2 separate regions of the Homo sapiens genome follow, and region 2 is linked to region 1. Evidence: promoter capture Hi-C in 16 types of primary human blood cells and fetal thymus (Javierre and others, 2016). All regions are on one chromosome and are shown on one strand. The core of a region is centred on a gene start or on the middle of the fragment in contact, and the rest is flanking DNA. Distances in the headings are between cores, read along the strand shown.

Region 1 (7,512 bases), core at 3,584-6,083:
ATACCTGTAATCCCAGCACTTTGGGGAGCCAAAGCAGGAGGATCACTTGAACTCAGGAGTTCAACACCAGCCTGGACAACATGGCGAGACCCCCATCTCTACAAAAAAACAAAAAACCAAAAAAACAAATTAGCTGGGTGTGGTGGCCCATGCCTGTGGTCCCAGCTACTTGGGAGACTGAGGCGGGAGGATCCTTGAGCATGGGAGATGGAGGCTACAGTGGGCAGTGATTGCGCCGCTGCACTCCCGGCTGGGTGACCAAATGACACCCTGTCTCAAAAACAAAAAACAAAACAAAATGAAGTACAAAAAGACCCGGCCTGGGCACTCCGAATTCAGGAAAACCGTTTCAGGTGTCACACAACAGACCTGACCTCGGTGATCTAACCCCCATCTTCTTCCCACATTAGGCACCTTCTAAAGTGATTTGATTTTCTCTGAGTGAAAATTCACTTGCCACCTGCAAAAGTGACAGGGAACCCGGCTCCCAAACTTCTAAGTCTCCCCTCTGCCCAGACGCCAGGGCTTGCAGGTGCCTTCCCTTCACAGTGAACGCTTCTTCCCGTTTAAACTTTCATTTTGCAACTCTAGGTGAACTGAATGTCAAGAGTTTGGAGTTTATTTTCCTCCAGAGAAGGTCAGTGGTGGCTGGGTGAGGTGACCACAGAGGCGGGAGGGCCAGGGAAAGACTTACCAGGAGTTTTCATCTCTTTAGACTACATTAAGTCCAAACCAGGGAGCACTGAGTCAGCTCTCAGTTATCTGGGGGCCCATGAGCTTAGGGACTAACACCCCCGCCCACACCGAAGCCCTCTGCACCTTGCCTGCCTCACCCACGGAGACTTTGCACCTTTCACCTGCACGGACAGAAAAGGTCGGCAGAGGACAGCATGCAGCGGAATTCAACCCTGCCCCTTTCTCTGCCTGCAGAGGGTGCAGTTAAAAAAAGATAAAGTCATTGATGCTGCATCCGTTTATGTGGCTTCAGAGAACAGAGAATCGGTTTGAAGCGGGTGATTTCTCAAGGCTGTTCCCATCCCCCACAGTGGTCTATGAAGCTTTGAAATCTGGAACCTTATTTGTTATACAAGCAACTCGGGGGCAGTTTTCAAGACAGGCCAGTACAGGAGCCTCAGGGCTCAGCTGCCAGGGGAAGGAAGCCTCACTCTTTCCTCCACACTGTCAAGATACAAACGTGGATGGGAAGGGCACACTCCACAGAAATTCAAAGACCATGCACCCTGGCTGCGGAGCTCACGGAGGACAGGCCAGATGCGCAGGAAGAGTGAAGCAAGGCCCGTGAGGCAGGTCAAACGTCAAACCGACTCTATCGGCATCCAGAGGGGCTGTGCAGGAGCAGACACACCGTGGGTATCCCCATGGGACACTCTTGAGTGTCTGTCCAAGAAAGAGCTGAAGGGGGGACCACAGCACCAGTTCCTCCCAACCCCAGCACCTTCTGCTTCTCTGCCCCGTGGCCCTATTTCTATTCCTCCCTCCTTGGGCTCGTTTCATCTTCTCCCTGACCTAAGCCCTCGACCTGGGATTGACAGCTGTGGGTACAGACGGGCATGACTGAGCCCCGCTGGTCTTGCTGAGGTCTAAAGAGAAGAGTGGCTGAGAGCAGCTAGCGTTAGTGACAGGAATTGATCCCCAAGAGTTTCTCTCGTGCAGCATCCCAGCATCTGTGGTTATGATTCCTGCCCCACTTTGGAGGGAAGAGAATAAGACTCAGAGAGGTTGGAGGACAAAGCCACACAGCTAGTAAGCTCTAATTCAGCCTGCTGGGGGCTTAGCCCATGCTCAGAGCCACCATCCAGGCAGGCTCCTAAGTCTTCATTCATGGTTGTTTGCATTGCAAAGCCTTGGAATGAACTACAGCAAAACTCTTTGTTTTTGTAGGGAGCTAAGTTTTCTCGATGTGTAATAAGAATCTCAACTTTTAATCATATTTTGTCCACTTTGGAAGAAATCATCTAATTTGTTATTAAGCAGACACATCTCCTGACTTTTAATTGCAAGATATTAACTAAGCTTTCCTTTTTTTTGATGATTTGGGGACATTTGCTGGAGGGAGCAGTGACAGCCTCACTCCAGCTGTGTTGGTGCCATCCCTTGGGAAGGCAGGAGGTTTCAGGAACAGGAATCGTTGATGGGAACAGGTGTTTAGGCCAAAGAATTCCGAAGAGGTTGGCATTGCTGCCTTCCCAGATAGTGGACGGAAACAGGTGGATGGAGGCCAGGTCACCAGCGGGGATTAAGACTCATGCGATCAAAGCCCAGGAAAGAGGGTAAGTGGGAGCTGAGGCTCGGGCATTAAGACAACATCTGGAGTCTCTCCCGTGTGGGTTATTGGGTGAACGGCATTCAGGGCCAGCTGTGTCCTTTCAGATAAAACTAGAAGATTCAAACCTTCTTTCATTACATCTGCCCTCAGGGACAGGCAGGTTCTGAGGATTAAAGGCAGGGACTCTGCAGCTGGGTGGGTGGCTGGGCCTTCCTTCCGCCTCTCTCTTATCTATGCTTATTTATCCACATTGGATGGGACAGGAGTCTCTGTGAGAGGCAGTGCTGGCCAGTAGTTTTGAGCCAGATGGCGTGGTTACCATTCAAGGGAACGGGTCACCACTTAGCACAGTTAGCAGGCTGTGTGGCCTTGGGGAAGTCACCAAGCCCCTGGGTGCCTCTGTAAGATGAGAAGAAGAAGAGCATCTACCTTTGGGGCTTGCTATGGGGCTGCACTCACAGAGCTGCATGATGCCTGGCGATGCTGTGGGTTATTGTTATTATTATTACTACTACTATTACCTGCCAAGGCTTCCGTCTTTGGGTCTGTGGTTAGGGACCTGATGGTTGATCCTTTAATCCTTTTTTTTTTTTTTTTTTTTTTTTTTAGTTTTGTATAAATTATGTTTCATATCTTTTTATTTCAGAAATAATCATTGCTGGAAATGCTGTTAAATTTTTTGGAACTCTTCTTTTTTTTTTTTTTTTTTTTTTTATTGATCATTCTTGGGTGTTTCTTGCAGAAGGGGATTTGGCAGGGTCATAGGACAATAGTGGAGGGAAGGTCAGCAGATAAACAAGTGAACAAAGGTCTCTGGTTTTCCTAGGCAGAGGACCCTGTGGCCTTCCGCAGTGTTTGTGTCCCTGGGTACTTAAGATTAGGGAGTGGTGATGACTCTTAACGAGCATGCTGCCTTCAAGCATCTGTTTAACAAAGCACATCTTGCACCGCCCTTAATCCATTTAACCCTGAGTGGACACAGCACATGTTTCAGAGAGCATGGGGTTGGGGGTAAGGTCATAGATCAACAGGATCCCAAGGCAGAAGAATTTTTCTTAGTACAGAACAAAATGAAAAGTCTCCCATGTCTACTTCTATCCACACAGACCCGGCAACCATCCGATTTCTCAATTTTTTCCCCACCCTTCCCGCCTTTCTATTCCACAAAGCCGCCATTGTCATCATGGCCCATCCCCAATGAGCCGCTGGGCACACCTCCCAGACGGGGTCGTGGCCGGGCAGAGGGGCTCCTCACTTCCCAGTAGGGGCGGCCGGGCAGAAGCGCCCCTCACCTCCCGGACGGGGCGGCTGGCCGGGCGGGGGGCTGACCCCCGCCACCTCCCTCCCGGACGGGGCGGCTGGCCGGGCAGAGGGGCTCCTCACTTCCCAGTAGGGGCGGCCGGGCAGAGGCGCCCCTCACCTCCCGGACGGGGCGGCTGGCCGGGCGGGGGGCTGACCCCCCCACCTCCCTCCCGGACGGGGCGGCTGGCCGGGCAGAGGGGCTCCTCACTTCCCAGTAGGGGCGGCCGGGCAGAGGCGCCCCTCACCTCCCGGACGGGGCGGCTGGCCGGGCGGGGGGCTGACCCCCCCACCTCCCTCCCGGACGGGGCGGCTGGCCGGGCAGAGGGGCTCCTCACTTCCCAGTAGGGGCGGCCGGGCAGAGGCGCCCCTCACCTCCCGGACGGGGCGGCTGGCCGGGCGGGGGGCTGATCCCCCCACCTCCCTCCCGGACGGGGCGGCTGGCCGGGCGGGGGGCTGACCCCCCACCTCCCTCCCGGACGGGGCGGCTGGCCGGGCAGAGGGGCTCCTCACTTCCCAGTAGGGGCGGCCGGGCAGAGGCGCCCCTCACCTCCCGGACGGGGTGGCTGGCCGGGCGGGGGGCTGATCCCCCCACCTCCCTCCCGGACGGGGCGGCTGGCCGGGCGGGGGGCTGACCCCCCACCTCCCTCCCGGACGAGGCGGCTGGCCGGGCAGAGGGGCTCCTCACTTCCCAGTAGGGGCAGCCGGGCAGAGGCGCCCCTCACCTCCCGGACGGGGCGGCTGGCCAGGCGGGGGGCTGATCCCCCCACCTCCCTCCCGGACGGGGCGGCTGGCCGGGCGGGGGGCTGACCCCCCACCTCCCTCCCGGACGGGGCGGCTGGCCGGGCAGAGGAGTCCTCACTTCCCAGTAGGGGCGGCCGGGTAGAGGCGCCCCTCACCTCCCGGACGGGGCGGCTGGCCAGGCGGGGGGCTGATCCCCCCACCTCCCTCCCGGACGGGGCGGCTGGCCGGGCAGGGGGCTGACCCCCCTCCCCCCTCCCGGACTGGGTGGCTGGCCGGGCGGGGGGCTGACCCCCCCACCTCCCTCCTGGACGGGGCGACTGGCCGGGCAGAGGGGCTCCTCACTTCCCAGTAGGGGCGGCCGGGCAGAGGAGCCCCTCACCTCCCGGACGGGGCGGCTGGCCGGGCGGGGGGCTGACCCCCCCCACCTCCCCCCCGGACGGGGTGGCTGCCGGGCGGAGACGCTCCTCACTTCCCAGACGGGGTGGCTGCTGGACGGAGGGGCTCCTCACTTCTCAGACGGGGTGGTTGCCAGGCAGAGGTGCTCCCCACCTCTCAGACGATGGGCGGCCAGGCAGAGACGCTCCTCACTTTCCAGACGGGGTGGCGGCCGGGCAGAGGCTGCAATCTCGGCTCTTTGGGAGGCCAAGGCAGGCGGCTGGGAGGTGTAGGTTGTAGTGAGCCGAGATCACGCCGCTGCACTCCAGCCTGGGCACCATTGAGCACTGAGTGAACGAGACTCCGTCTGCAATCCCAGCACCTCGGAAGGCCGAGGCTGGCGGATCACTCGCGGTTAGGAGCTGGAGACCAGCCCGGCCAACACAGCGAAACCCCGTCTCCACCAAAAAAAAACGAAAACCAGTCAGGCGTGGCGGCGCGTGCCTGCAATCACAGGCACTCGGCAGGCTGAGGCAGGAGAATCAGGCAGGGAGGTTGCAGTGAGCCGAGATCGCAGCAGTACAGTCCAGCTTCGGCTCGGCATCAGAGGGAGACCGTGGAAGGAGACCGTGGGGAGAGGTAGAGGTAGAGGTAGAGGTAGAGGTTAGAGGTTAGAGGTTAGAGGTTAGAGGTAGAGGTAGAGGTAGAGGTAGAGGTAGAGGTAGAGGTAGAGGTAGACGTAGAGGTATCCTTTAATCTTTCTAGGACAGGTACAGTGGCTCATGCCTGTAATCCCAGCACTTTGGGAGGCCGAGGTGGGAGGATCACTGGAGGCAGGCGGATCACTGGAGCCAAGGAGTTCAAGACCAACCAGGGCAACATAGTGAGACCTTGTCTCTACAAGAAGTTTAAAAAATTAGCCAAGCATGGCGGCGCATGCCTGTAGTCCCAGCTACTTGGGAGGATGAAGCTAGAGGATTGCTTGAGCCCAGAAGGCAGAGGCTGCAGTGAGCAGTGATCACACCACTGCACTCCAGCCTGGGCGACAGAGCAAGCTCCTATCTCAAAAAAAAAAAAAAAAACAGATAATCTTTCTAGGACTTGATTTCCCAGGCTCCATAATGGCAATCTGCGCAGGCAGCTTCTGGCTCTGAGTCTTCCTGTTTCTGTGGTGCCACTGCCAGCACAGGGAGGTCATTCTGTATCATGTCACTTGCTTGGTGTTTTACACCCATGGATGATGAAACAGCAACTGCAGCCTGGAGTGCTGGGAGGCAGAGAGAGTCTCGCTTCCCAGGCCATCTGGCTTACTGTGAAGGCCAGAAGCAGCACAGCCTCTCTTGGTCACCAGGGATCAGGACTCAGGTGGAGAGGGTGGGGCAGGGGCTGGCAGTGGAGACAGGTCCACACTGGGAACCAGCTGTGCCAGGCAGTGTGGCCCTGAAGCCCCTAAGGTGTGTCAAGAGGGGTCTTTCAGGAAATGGTTAGAGAGTGCAGGTGTTGTGTTTCTCTCTGACATGTAAACATATGTCTTTCTAGACAGGCAGGTCTCCCTATACCTGCCTTACGTGGGAAGCACGTCCGCAGGAGAGGTGCCACCCAGTGCCTCCAGCACTGATCAGGCCTTTCTCAGGTGTTGGGCAGGGAGAGGCAGAGCCCAAGAGAAGCCTCAGCAGAACACTAACAGTGGAAAGGAGGCAGTGAGGTGGAAGCAGCTTCTTTGGTACATGCAGAAAGTTCTAGAAAGGCCTTTTGGCTTAGAATCCTAGCTCTATTCACGTGAAGCAGCACTTCGGCATGAGGTGGTGCTTGAGGGCCCCTTGTCTGAGTAAAACGTGGATGTTGTAGCTGGTTTTGGGGGCTGTGGGACTCCCCCATCTGCACACCCCCTACTCAGCCGATGTGGTAAGCATTTAGCCACAGCAAGTGCTTACTTAGTATTTGTTGGTTCCTGATACACAGAAATCTCTGTGATCCAAGCAGTGTTTCTCCCATAGGACTCTACCCTGCCAACCCTCAGCTCGGCTCAGCTCAGCAGCTCGCTAACTGTGAAACTCGGACGGACATCCTGTGATCACTCCAACGCTTTAAAATTCATCAAAGCGCAGAGCGCTGCCTGGCCGCAGCCCATTGCTCTGTTGTTCTGAGGGGCAAGGCCACAGCGACCTACAGCAGGGAAGAGACAAACACAGATCTGGTGCAGAGATTATTCGGGTCATCGATGACAGGCAGGCAAGAAAGCAGGAGCGTTTCCTGCACGGCCACACCCAAGCAGAACCTTTTCAGGGTACTCATCCCTTTTTAGGCTGGGCTTCGCTCCCCAGCGAGGTCAGCAGGGCCAGCTGATTGTTTTTATTTTACAGGTGTGGGATTCCCTCTGGGGTCTGACTGCCACACTCAGACACAGAAGGGGCAGCAGGGGCAGGGTTTCTAGAGACAGACCTCCTCAGTCAAATGCTGGCCACTTACCAGTCAGCAGGCTTGGAAATGTTATTTTGCCCCTTTGTGCCTCAGTTTCCTCAGATGTAAATGGAGATAATAAATGTACCTATCTCGAGGAATAAATAAAATCACCCACAGGCCAGCTGTGATGGCTCATGATTGTCATCCCAATGCTCTGGGAGGCTGAGGAGGGAGGATCTTTTGAGGTCAAGAGTTCAAGACCAGCCTGGGCAACATAGTGAGACTCTGTCTCTACAAAAATTAAACAATTGGTGGTGTGCACCTGTAGTCCTACCTACTCGGGAGGCTGAGGTGGGAGGATTGCTTGAGCCCAGGAGGTCGAGGCTGCAGAGAGCCATGAGTGC
Region 2 (7,512 bases), core at 2,135-4,634, 170 kb before region 1:
CTGGTGCGCACCTGGGACGCGGCCAGAGAGGCTGAACCCCTAACGTTTTATTCTGATGAATTTAGATTGAAAGATGGAAGCTATGTACGTTATTTTTCCTTTAAATGGACCTTCATGGTTCCACTAGGGCGACATGTTGCTGCAATGGCTAATCATTCAGCCTCCGAAGGAGACGTGCGGCGACTGAAACGCACGCCAGATTTTGAAGACCGTAGGAAAAAAAAAAAAGCGAGCCAGTCATTGAGACTTTTTAAATTGATTACATGTGGAAATGCTAATGTTCCAGCGGGACTGGATTAAACAGGACATTATTAACATGCATTCCACCTGTTTCTGGTTACTTTTTAAATTTGGCTAAATGGGCATTTTACATTACAGGTGTGTGGGGGTGGGGGCTGACCTGTGGCCTCGGCTTCTGGCCCTGGGCCTTCCCTTCCTCCCACTTGCCACGGGGGCCGGGTCCGGGAGCAGAGCTCTGCAGTTAGGGCTGCTGAGAGGCGCAGGTGCAGAGGACGGGTGGGTGCCCAGGCCCAGGGCACAGGGTCAGGGGTCGGAAACCTGCCAGTCTTTAAAACTACATTTCACAGAGGATCCATCCCGGCCGTCTATACATAGGGTGGGTCCTCCGTCAATCCATCCAGCACCCACTGAGTTCACCCCATCTATCCTATGTATAAGAAAATCGCGGACCGATCACGGGGGCTCATGTCTGTAATCCCAGCACTTTGGGAGGCTAAGGCAGGTGGATCACCTGAGGTCTGAAGTTCCAGACCAGCCTGGACAACATGGTGATACCCCGTCTGTACTAAAAACACCAAACTTAGCCCTGCGTGATGGTGCATGCCTGTAATCCCAGCTATTCAGGAGGCTGAGGCAGGAAAATCACTTGAACCCAGGAGACAGAGGTTGCAGTGAGCAGAGATCACGCCACCGCACTCCAGCCTGGGTGACAGAGCGAGACTCCATCTCAGAAAAAAAAAAAAGTGAAAAAGAAAAAAAAGAAAATCACCCAGTGCTTGGCAGTCACCATACAGCCAAGACCCACCCATCATTCAAGTCCACCCCAGGCTGGCTTCATTATTTTTGGGGAGGACTGGACCTTCATTTGACTTGCTATTTACCATTGATTAGGGCCTAGACTTTGTGAAGTTACATGTTAATTTGTAGATATTTTGTCAGTAGAGATGCAAATGATTTCAGTCTGGTGGAGAATGAAATCACTGAAACTACTGGCCCCCAAGGCCGTGGTTTTAGTTTGCGGTAGGATATTGATCACTTTGGCCTCTAACTTAGCAGACTTCCTTTACAGGGGCTGTGTTGGCTGATGAAACAAAACTCTGTCAGCCACTCTTTGAACCAGTTGTACAATTTTGCCCTTTCCCAGTCTGGGCTAAGCAAATCTCTGATGTGTTCATTCCAGATTTGTATGAGAGTCTTATATTTAACTGTTAAGTTTATAAGGTTTACTCAAGTAGTTAACTGAATCAGGAGAGAAATTTGAGATGAGGTTGAGGTTAACCCCTGGGGAAATGATGTCCACAGCATCACAGGGAATGGTTACCCTAAGCCGGGGCATGCACGTGGGGAGGGAGGAAAACTGGAAAGACTCTTTCATCCAGAAAGATGAAGGCTGAGAGGGGAGGCAGGTGGCATTTGTGATTCCATAGACAGCGTCAAAGAGAGGAACCTAAGCTTGTTGCCAAACCTGAGAAGTAGAAACCTCTTTCAGGTGAAAAGAGGCTGTGTGAGAGGAGAAAGGAAGGGAGTCTCTGCTTCAATGGTGTCAGAAGTGGAGGAATCTTTGACAGATGCTGGAGTCAGTCTGTGTCCCGTGTCTTTGAGGAACTAGCCCCGTGAGACACAGCCCCTGACCTCAGGGAGCAAGCAATCTAGCGGTGTCCACAAAAGCAACACCTGAAGATTAAATAATACAAAATACATTTCAGGAAATACGTAGAACATTTCAAGCCACTGGTGCAGACAGTGGGAGCTCAGAAATCAGAGGAGGAGGTGCCAGTGGGACTGGGGTCTGTTATGTTGTACAGCAAAACGCAATGAAGTTAAGGACCTCGAGAGGAGTTGCTGATCCTGGGCTATCCAATGGAGTCCTAGGTACAGTCACATGTGTCCCCATAAGATGGGCAGAGGGAAATCAGAAGCACCACAGAGGACAGACAAGGGTCTTGAAGACAGAGGCAGAGACTGGGGGATGCAGCCACAAACCAAGGAATCTCAGCAGCCACCAGGAGACAAAGATAGATTCTCTCCAGGGCCTCTGGAGGGAGTGGGACCTGCTGGCACCTTGATTCCAGACCTCGGGACTGCAGAGCAGCAAGAGGAGACATTTCTGTTATTCTCAGCCACCTGGTTTGTGGTGATTTGTTACAGCCACCCCAGGACGCGAATACCTTCCCTCACATGCCTAAGCTGAGACGGTTGGAACCACAGGGCAACTGGACACACACCCCGACTCTCTGCGCTGCACTTGGGCTGCCTCCCAGCATGGCAGTCCCAATGGTCAGACTTCACAAAGGTGCTAGCCTCCAAGAGGACAGTTCCCAGGATGGGGAAGCAAGAGCCCCAGGCATTTGAAGAGGAAGTTACCCAGCCTCATCCCTCCCACCCCTGAGCAAGCTTCAGGGCCAGCCCGGCACTAGCGGAGGGGAAGGAGCCCATTCTCCCCATGAGAAGACTACAAAGCACCCACCCAGATGGGGTATGTGGGGCTGCTCCTCTGAGCACTGACCCCCGGCTTCCAACCGCAGACCATCCTCAGAGCTCAGCGGGTCCCTTCTCCACATCCTCAACCCTACAGCCTAGAGTTTTCAGTGCCCAGGACCCTTTCAGAACAGGAATGTGTGGAACAAGCTCTAAATCTAGAGTGTAACTTAACACATACATAAAATTGCTTTCTTTCAGGTTTATTTTTAAGAAGCAAATGTTATTAATTTCCGGAGAAGGAAATGAAAGAAGATGCTGCAATGATAGTGTCTGCAGAACAGCTTCAAAATCACACAAAGAGACAGACTCATGAAGGTGATATTGCAAAACCAGCATGGCATGGGGGCAGACACTGTGCTGTGGAGGGGACAGTGTGGAAGCCACATTCCCTGTTTCCTTCTATCCTCCTCCCACTCTCTTGAGTTGAATCACCCTCTAGTGGGGCCTGGGCCTGCTTGTTCACCCAACGTCTGATGCACAGTTCATTGTTACTCCTTCTTTTAACTGCATCATCCTTTACTTATAAAGAATTTGGAGAGGCAAATAAGGTCGTATTAAAACCAGTTGGAGCATGATATATAATGCATGGTATAGCCAACAAGCAACAGTGAATCCTTTGAACACACTTTCTCCAGTGTGCATCTGGTAAGGAGGCTAAGTTCTTAGTGGGATAGCGCTATTATTAATCAGAAAGTTTGAAGGTGCTTTTTGAGAATTAACCCCAGAGCTACAGAGTTATGCATCATTATCAGTATACCAGCCTATACTTTGTTCAGTGCTTTACAATTTAATAAGTGCCTGATTTCTTTCTCAGCACTATGTGAGGAAGGTGTTACCATTGGTTAAGGATGCAACAGCCAAGGTTGAAGGAGACTAACTGCTTCGCCGTCTGCTTATTCTCAGCTGTAAACAGCTTGCAGGAGGACAATCTGCATTGTTCGCAGAGAAGCAAATATGACCCAGAGGTCAGAGTCGCAAGAGCCCAGCAATTTGTCTTTGCTCCTTAATCCACTCTGTGCCATCCAGGGAGAGATAGTAACACTGATTTCTGAATAGTGCTTTGTGTGTTACACAGTGGCTTCATATCCAGCGCCTCCCCCACCTCCTCCGCCCTCACTAGGGGTGGATTGCCCCTGAGCAGGGTCTGAGGGGCAATGGATCGGGGTGCTGCAGGGGCTGAAAGCTGCAACTTTGCAGGATGTTTGTGTAGTCATGACAGCCTCGCGGAAAGCCTTGGGAGCATGGGGCGTCCTAATCATCCTGACAACTCCGGGTGGAGGGTACACCGCCGTGCTCCATGCCATCGGGACAGAGCTGGGATATGCAGGCCATGGCGAACAAGCACACAGCACAAACCTGTGCCGCACTGTCCAGGTCAGTGCTTCTCATCCAGAGAGGCTTCATCCCCCTGGACAAGCTTGGCCATGTCTGGGGACAGTTTGGATTGTCCCAGCTGGGGAGGGGTGTGGAGGGTGCTGCTGGCATCAGTGAATGAACGGAGACCGGGGATGTTACTAAACATCCTACAAGGCACAGGGCAGCCCCTGCCACAGAGAATCACCAGGCCCAAAGTGTCAATGAGGCAGAGGTTGAGGAAGCCTGGCATAGGGGTTTTACCTGTTATGAACATGTTAATCCACCGGCTGATGTGAAACAGATGCCAGGATCAGTCCCCACTTTGCAATTGAAAACAGAAAAAGCAGGGGTCTCAGTCCTTGTATGAAACAAGGTAGTTTTTCAGCCAAACAAAAAACATTAAATGAAATAAAGTCAAGGTACTTTGAATCATTTTGCCTCATAATTTATAAAAAAAATTAGCAGTAATGAATATCAACAGACTAAGTATTGTAAAAGAGGCTTTCAAAAAGCAGAAATTACAGAGAAGACAAAGAAAATAGGCAAAAACACATGGCTTATAGGAGATTTTGTTCATTTCTTTTGCTTTGTGTTACCCTCTTCCCATGGTCCTGCCTTCCTTGGGTTATTTGAATATATTTTTTATTCCATTTTAAATAATCCATTGTCCTTTCTGGCTATATCTTTTTGTATCAGTTTATTAGTAGTTTCTCTAGGGATTACAATACATATATTTAACATTTTATAGTCCACTTAGAGTTCATATCTTACCATTTCAAGTATATTATAGAAGGCTTATGACTCTATTGGTTCATTTATCCTCCTCTCCTTATGTTATAATTGTCATATGTACCACATCTCAGTAATAATTATACCCAGAAAATGTTACAATATTTGCTTTCAACAGTCATATACATTTTAAATAATTTAAAAAGAGAAAAAGAATTCATTATATTTACCAGATATTTATCATTTCTGTTGCTCTAATGCCATTCCTGAAGTTCCAAGTGTTCCTCCAGATCATCTTCCTTTTTCCTGAAGAACTTGGCTAAGCATTTCTTTTATAGGTCTGTTAGTGACAAATTCTCTTACTTTCTCTTAATCTGAGTATGTCCTTATTTCACTGTCATTTCTAAGATATTTTTGCTGGATATAGAATTCTGGGTTGACAATTATTTTCTTTCAGTAATTTATAGATGTTGTTCCACCATCTTCCTGCTTCCTATTTTCTGATGAGAAATTTGCAGTTATCCAAAGTACTCTTCTCTGATACATAGTATACTGTTTTTATCTGGTTGCTTTTAATTGTCTTTCCTTTACCTTTGATTTTCATTTACAATGCATTTTTTTTAAGTTTATCTTGTTTAGAGTTTGTTAACCTTCTTGAACCTATATATATATACGTTTTTCATCAAGTCTGGGAAGTTTACAACCATTATTTCTTCAATATTTTTCTGCACCAGTGTCCTCCTCCTCTTCTTCTGAGACTCCAATAATAAGAGTATTAGACTTTTTGATATTGTCTCACAGGTGCTTGAGGCTCTGTTTTTGTTTCATTTTTTTTTCTCTCAATCTTCAGGCTGTGTAATTCCTATTGATTAATCTTCAAGTTCACTGACAATTTCCAGGATATCTCCCACAATTTTTGGCATTCAGGGCTCTCCTTTCCTGGTTCTTCTGGACAGAAAGATAGTGTTATCTCCAAGATTTAGCTTCCCGCACTGCCATGCAGCTCTGCGTGACTAGGACTACCTTAGGAATAAATTGGTAAAAGAAAAGACAAAAAAATTAACAGGGATTATCCCCCCATTTTTAAAACAGCTGGAGCTCTTTTTCCAGTTTTCTTCTGTCCAGAAAATCAGGTTTTTCTTAGCTTTTTAATTCTTTGTGCTATTGTATAGTTCCACATGACTGGGGCCATCTTTGGAGCCAAGTGGCAACAGTAAAGAGGAAGAAATAAACAGGGATTCACCCCACTCCATTTCCAGTTCCTCTGGTTGGAGAGTTGGGTCTTTCATCAAAGTTTCAGGGCTTCCAGCACCAGGACCAGCAGCATAGTGGTGCAGCTCCACAGCTGGAGCTGGCCTTGGGTCAGGGTCAAGAGAGGAAAGAAAAAGAATAGTGAAAATTTCTCCCACACTCCCTGGCACGCAGGGGTCCCTTTTCCTGGTCCTTTGGCTGGAAAGAGAGGTTTTATCCCAGATTTTTGTCTTCTGGGCCCACTGCACAGTTCTGAGATTCAACCCACCCTCAGGTCAGAGCTAAGAGACAAAGAAAGAGGAACAAGGCAAAACTCACCCCCATTTGGGGTCATTATCAAGTTTTGACATCAGTTGCCCATCCTTTTGTCGTTACTTACTTTTTAGAGGGCTCAGGGAGTTGTTCTTTATGTTCCTCCCAGAGTTTTCAGCGTTCCCAGTGGGACGGTAGACGGAAGTGCACGTATTCCACCTTGGCTGGTACCAGTGGTCACTTATAGAAAATGCAAATTCTCTCAGCCCAGGTTGGAGCAAATGTACAAAAGAAAGTAATGATATAAAAGACCAAAATGACATGATCAATTTAGTATACCTGAGGGATATCTACTAAACTTTAAATCCTAAAAATATAGACTATATTGTCTTTCCAAGTGACCATGGGACACTTCCAAAATTAACTAATAAACCACACAAATAACTTCAATTAGTTCTAAAGAGGAGAGATAATGCAGAAAACATTTTCTAATCACAATGCAATGAAACTAGAAATTGATAAGAAAGTCACAAAACCAAAAAGGCCTTGACCTAGAAATCGTATGATTCCTTATTAACCAACTTTTGAGTCAGAGGGAAATACAAAGTGAATTATAGAATTTCAGGGAAACAACAATAGTGAAAACATTAAATGTTAGAGTTGAGAATATAAATACAGTAGTTGATAGACTTAAATATCCATATCAGGTATAGATATTTAACAACACTGCACTCCTTACTTCCTGTCCTAGGTCTGACTTCCACGGTCTTGCTGGACACAGACCCTTTGTGGACATTTGACAATGTCTGGAGACATTGGAGTGACATCTTGTTATTGCATACTTAATAGACTACAGTATAGTATAAACATAAATTTATATGCACTGGGAAACCAAAAATTTTATGTGACTCACTGTATTGCCGTATTCACTTTATTGAGGTGGTCTAGAACCCAACCCACAATATCTCCAAGGCCAGCCTGTATGTGATCTCATTTACTCTTTATAAAGACATCTGGCGACGAAAAATCTCAGAACTCTTTCACAGATAAGAAAACTTAGGCTAAGACAGATGTAGGGAGAAGAGTGAAAATCCCCAAACCACCTTCCCCATTTTTTCCTTCCCCAGGGCTCACCCCGAATCACTCAGTGCTGTGTCACGTGTCATCCGGACGTTTTTCCTTGAGTGACAGGCATGACTACGC

What was found. The method cuts DNA at HindIII sites, captures the fragments that hold promoters and counts their contacts. A CHiCAGO score of 5 or more calls a contact.
Region 2: a contact is called between a fragment that was not itself captured here and the fragment with the promoter of BLACE in region 1, in 5 of 17 cell types (M0 macrophages, M1 macrophages, M2 macrophages and 2 more). The highest score is 9.8, in M0 macrophages.

Annotation. Positions count from the first base shown.
Region 1 is chr7:155,363,100-155,370,611 of GRCh38, forward strand. It overlaps BLACE (B cell acute lymphoblastic leukemia expressed), which reads right to left and starts at 4,834. Exons shown (of 6, transcript NR_103545.1): 1 at 4,710-4,834; 2 at 5-98. It overlaps LOC105375593 (a long non-coding RNA gene), which reads left to right and starts at 1,082. Exons shown (of 3, transcript XR_928236.4): 1 at 1,082-1,367; 2 at 2,081-2,291; 3 at 6,703-7,512. The HindIII fragment of the contact is 7,901 bases long and covers 2,033-7,512 here.
Region 2 is chr7:155,190,826-155,198,337 of GRCh38, forward strand. It overlaps LOC124901782 (a long non-coding RNA gene), which reads right to left. Exons shown (of 2, transcript XR_007060602.1): 1 at 6,437-7,512; 2 at 4,760-6,162. Among named protein-coding and RNA genes, the nearest start is that of INSIG1, 100 kb to the right of the region's middle. RefSeq lists an enhancer at 7,109-7,512. The HindIII fragment of the contact is 1,504 bases long and covers 2,633-4,136 here.